Linked DNA regions of Homo sapiens: region 2 is linked to region 1. Evidence: promoter capture Hi-C in human tissues and cell types (Jung and others, 2019). All regions are on one chromosome and are shown on one strand. The core of a region is centred on a gene start or on the middle of the fragment in contact, and the rest is flanking DNA. Distances in the headings are between cores, read along the strand shown. Region 1 holds the start of ISLR (immunoglobulin superfamily containing leucine rich repeat). Region 2 has its middle 17 kb from the start of ISLR2.

Region 1 (2,700 bases), core at 85-2,584:
AGCCGGTTGGCTGACAGGCTCAGTGTAGTCACATTGGCCGGGAAGCCAGGCGGCACGGATTCTAGGTCGCGGTAGGCACAGTCGGCGATCTGGAAGCCATACTTTTCCCCACAGTCGCAGGGCTCAGGGCAGGCCTGAGCCAGGCCCAGGAGAAGCGCCCACCAGAGCAGATGCAGCTCCTGCATGGTGCCTCCTGCAGAGAAAGGCATGTCACCCAGGGGATCCCGAGAACCTGCCAAAGGGACTCATTCCTCCCACAAGCCCAGCCAGAGCTCTTTCCCATCAGGAGGCCCTGTCCCACATAACCCAGCTAAATCCCAACACCACCTAGCCCACCGCCCCCATCCTACGGAAGGAGAAACTGAGGCCAAGAGAAGGGCGGAGACTTGCCCGAGGTCACGCAGCCAGGCAGGATGAAGACGGGATGGAAGAGGACCCCAGCTCCTCCTCCGAGTGGAGAGTTCTCCCTGCCTCGGCCTGTTCCTAGCTGACTTTATGACTTGAAATCTGTTTTCCAGCCACCCCCCTCCCCCAGCACTTTGCAGAACCTCCCCCTGCCCTCCCACATCCTGGCCGCAGTCCCTCCCACCGGAGCCCCCCATAGGTATGCTTTGCCTTGGCCCAGACGAGGCCCCTTGTGCAGTGCACACCACCCCCATCCACTCCACCCGCCCTCTCCCGCTCCTCCGGCCATGACCGCAGCAGACACCAGGCCTTTTCTGTGGAATCACACCCGTGGCCTGTTCTGTTCAAACTTAGCCAGGCAGCTGCCTAAATAAACCCCCGCCAGGACCTCTCAGCTGACTTGGGTGAGGCCAGAGGCTCAGCCCAAACGCAGCTGGGATTTCTGGGGCCTCAGTTGTGGGTTGTGGAAGAAGCAGATGCCCCCTGGACGGCTCCAAGCTAGGGATTGTCCCACGCACCTCAGACCAGCAGGGATGGACCAAGAGGGAACCAGCCCCTATGTCCAACAGGCCTCCCGCTCCCGCCGCTGGCCCTGGAGCCCTCCTCCCCACTGGCTTACCTTCAAGCTACTCTTAGTCAAGCGGAGCCTCTTCTAAGGTGGAACCAAAAAGCAACAGAGGACCTTAGCCCTGAGAGTCTGCAGGGCCACGGGCGCCCAAGGGAGGACTTGGATGCTGGGGCGAGGGGCAGCCTGGTCCCACCCCACCTTCGATGTGCAGGCCTGTGCCCTCCCTGCCCCAGACAGGGTGCCTGGAACCATCCACTGAGAGGAGGCGGCAGGGAGGAGCCCGGGGCAGCCCGCGCACTCCCTCCTTCCAGCAAAACAACTGCTTCTCTGCAGCAACAAGGACCTGTGTTTCATAAGTGACACCAGAAACTTGAGGGGGGAAGAGATGCCAAATTTTTTTGGGTTGTGTTTTTTCTCTCTCTCTCACTCACTTTTAGCAGCTTCAACTTCCTTAAAGACACAGCACTGTCTGGAAAGGACCCAAGAAATGATGGGGCCAGGAGGATTTTAGCGGGGGAAGGGCGAGAAATTGAATCTCATGGAAGGTGGGAGATTTCCACTTCAAACAAGAAAAAACGGGAAGCTTTTGTCCAAGCCAGGGTTGTATGTGTGTTGGTGTGTATACGTGTGTGTGTGTGTACAAGTTTGTGGGTGTGAGGGTGCGTATTTCTGGATTTGTATGTGTGTTTGCATGGATGTGGGTATGAAACCATGTACATGAGTTTGTGTGTGAGTGTGTGTGTGTGTCTGTCTTGGTGTGGGTTTGTGTGTGGAAGTGAGTGTGCATCCATGTGTGTGTGTTTCAGTGAAAAGCCAAGAAGGCCAAAGTGTACAAAGCAGATACCAACCCTTCGGTGAAAGCCAAGATGTTAGGCATTTTTTTTTTTTTTAAGAAAACATATCCTGCTGGCTCTGAGACTGAGCTGCGCTAAATGCATGTTGTTGTCCAGGGAGCTCCCAAGACTCCAGGCCCCGCCCCTCACTGCGCTCCCCACTGGCTGGGGAGGAAACAGGGAGGCCTGGCTCAGAAAACTCAGGGCGGGAGCCTGTTGACCTTCAGTGCTCCTGGCTGGGATTCTGAGCCACCCAGGCCCACTGCCCACTGGGCACCCAGAGGGGAGGCCAAGGGGCCGCACTCCCGGAGAGTTCTCTCTGTGTCCCCCACAGGGCCCAAAATCCCACTGTTGGTGCTGGACATCTACGCGGTCAGCATCGGCCTCTCTGAGCTCCACTGTTCCAACACCAACTGTGTGGAAGGGGCAGACGCCTCCAGGGTGAGGATATGTGACCCCTTTTCCAAACGGGAAGGCCCAGGGGAGGGGAATGGGGAAACAAAAGAGGCCCAAAACGAGGGAGCTGGAAGAGAAACCGAAAGATGAAGGAGCCCAGAAAAGAACTTTGTAGACTGAAGAATTTTGCTCTCCACAGACAAGCCTACCGTATCCCCTCAGTAGCCCTCCCCAAGCTTCCTTGGCCTTCCATCTGATAACTGGTTGAATTCTGCTCATGACTCAACTTACCCTCTCAGCAGGGCCAAGGGCAGACAGGGCTCATCTTTGGCTGAAAGCATCCCCAGGAAGCCTGCCCCAGCTCATCACACCCCATTCCCTGTCACCAAGCAAGGCCACAGAAGTCCCCAGCATGCTGCCTGCAAAACACCCGAGTCTGATGCTGAGGATATTATTATGGTCCAATGGAGAGCACCCTCTCTTTCCCCTGCAGAGGAA
Region 2 (2,700 bases), core at 49-2,548, 60 kb after region 1:
CATGTGCTCTCTTCTCCCACCTCCTCCCTGGTACTCTACCTCACAAATTCTACCAGCCTTGAAGATCTTCCCAAGCTCTGATCTCTGTCTCCTCAATCCACCAAGACCACTGGACTTTGGATTTCCCTCCCTGCATTGGAGCCTGTAAGTGCTTCCGGCAGTAAACTGAGGACACTGTAGGGTTCACCTTCTTTTAGGGATCATAGTTCTGCTCGACCTGTTCTCTGATGTCTGAAAACTATTGTTTTATATATGTTGTTCCATTTTTCTAGTTGTTCAAGGTGGGAGGCAAATCTGGTCCCTGTTAGCAATCATGGCCACATGTAGAGGTTGCAGGATGTTGTTTACATCTGTATCTTTTTTTTTTTTTTGAGACAGGATCTTGCTCTGTCACCCCAAGTGGCGCCATCTCGGCTCACTGCCACCTCCACTTCATGGCCTCAAGCGATCCTCCCACCTCAGCCTCCCAAAGTGCTGGGATTACAGGTGTGAGCCACTGCACCCGGCCTAAAATTGTATCTTTCTTATTATCAGTGAAGTTAAACATTTTTTCCTGTGTGTCAGTGGCATTTGCGCTTCTTTTTCTTTGAACTTTCATATATATTTTTCCATTTTTCTTAGAACTGTTGGTCTTTGTCTTCTCTACTTTTAGAATAGAATGAATATGATATTAATCGTACTTCGAATTGTGGCCATGATGGAGTACCTGTATTGATGATGGTCTCCCAGCATAAACAACTACAAAGCTGGACAAAGTACATGAAGAAATTGTCTTCAGCCATTGGGCAATAGGCAGTTCCAGGTACAATCTGAGAGAAGGGAATCACATGAAGTGACTGCTGTGTTTTTCTGGTGGGGAAAGTTTCTAAACCCTCAATGACAGCATGAGGAAGCAGAGTTCAGGCAATGAGGATCAGTCTTGTTTGGTGGAGGAAACAGAGACTGCTGCTCAGGGCTGCTAAAATGTGTGTGGCAGAGTATCAGAAAGGATGGAGTTGCAGAGGAGAAGCCCCAGAAATCTTATAGAGGTTGCTGCAGGTCCTTGGCCAAATCCCAAACTCTGAATGTGTGGATTGAGACTCTGCAAGGCCCAGCACAGAACAGCTGATGGGGAGCTGAGAGCTAAACAGCGATTTCAGTGGTCACAGAGTGCTGGAAACACATCTGAATTCTGGCTCAGCCAGAGTCTCCACTCTTGGAATCTCAGGTCTTGATGAATATCCCAGACATTCACAGAGGGCCTAGAAGGCCATGCCTTAGGATTAAGGAAGATTCTCTAGGAATAAGAGCAAAACTGAAAAACAGCTCACCCTAACAAAACCTAAAATGTAGCCTTGACACTCAAGATCAAGTTAACCCAACAGCAATTTAATTCCCTGCCAAAATAAAACTCAACACTAGAGTAGGATAACATAACCCACATCTCTACAATGAAGGTTCACAACGTCCAACAGCTCAAGAAATACTAGATGTGTGAAAAAGCGAGAAAATATATCCTAAAATTAAGAGAAAACCAGTCAATACAAACAGATGCACCGTGCATGGTGGCTCATGCCTGTAATCCTAGCACTTTGGGAGGCCAAGGCAGGTAGATCACTTGAGCTCAAGACTTTGAGACCAGCCTGGGCAACATGGCATAACCCCATCTCTACTAAAAATTCAAAACTGAGTTGGGTGTGGTGGTGTGCAGGGGCCCATAACCCCCAGGCTGTGGACTGTACCCGTCGGTGACCTGGTAGGAACCAGGCTGCGCAGCAGGAAGTGAGTGGTGGACAGCGAGCATTACTGCCTGAGCTCCGCCCCCCATCAGATCAGCAGGCATTAGATTCTCATAGAAGCGTGAACCCTAATGTGAACTGCACATGTGAGGAATCTAGGTTTCACACTCTTTATGAGAATCTAATGCCTGATGATCTGAAGTGGAACAGTTTCATACCATAACCACCACCCCTGACCCCGTCTGTAGAAAAATTGTCTTCCGTGAAACCAGTCAGGACTGCTGGTGGCATGTGCCTGTGGTCCCAGCTACTTGGAAGGCTGAGGTGGAAGGATGGCTTGGGCCTGGGAGGTGCAGGTTGCAGTGAGCTGAGATCATGCCACTGCAATCCAGCCTGGACAACAGAGTGAGATCTTGTCTCAAAAAAAAAAAAAAAAAGGGCCGGGCACAGTGACTCACACCTGTAATCTGAGCACTTTAGGAGGCTGAGGTGGGTGGATCACCTGAGGTCAGGAATTCAAGACCAGCCTGGCCAACATGGTGAAACCCCATCTCTACTAAAAATACAAAAATTAGCTGGGCGTGGTAACATGCGCCTATAGTTCCATCTGCTCGGGAGGCTGAGGTAGGAGAATTGCTTGAACCTGGGAGGTGGAGGTTGCAGCGAGCTGAGATGGCACCATTGCATGCCAGCCTGGGATACAAGAGCAAAAATCCATTTCCAAAAAAAAAAAAAAGCAGACCCATAAATGGCTCACACATTGGAATTAGCAGGCAAGAGCTTTAAAGTAACTACATACATACGTTAAAGAATTTAGAGAAATATCAACCCTTGGTGAAGATGGTTAAAAGAGAATTTAGAGAAATGATTTTTAGTATAAGTATGTCCTAAATATGCATGGTACATACTTACTAAATAATTATTTGTTATCAGAAATCTAAATTTAACTGGGCTTCCTATATTTTATCTGGCATCTCTACTC

What was found. The method cuts DNA at HindIII sites, captures the fragments that hold promoters and counts their contacts. A contact is called where the count stands out against the background at its distance.
Region 2: a fragment that was not itself captured here is called in contact with the fragment with the promoter of ISLR in region 1 in 1 of the 25 tissues and cell types used here (liver).

What each region holds. Positions count from the first base shown.
Region 1 is chr15:74,172,344-74,175,043 of GRCh38, reverse strand. It overlaps ISLR (immunoglobulin superfamily containing leucine rich repeat), which reads right to left and starts at 1,334. Exons shown (of 2, transcript NM_005545.4): 1 at 1,025-1,334; 2 at 1-193. The coding sequence starts at 185. RefSeq lists enhancers at 1-612, 613-1,600, 1,601-2,589. The HindIII fragment of the contact is 13,967 bases long and covers 1-1,997 here.
Region 2 is chr15:74,112,284-74,114,983 of GRCh38, reverse strand. It overlaps a transcript of ISLR2 not described here. Among named protein-coding and RNA genes, the nearest start is that of ISLR2, 17 kb to the left of the region's middle. The HindIII fragment of the contact is 8,895 bases long and covers 1-2,700 here.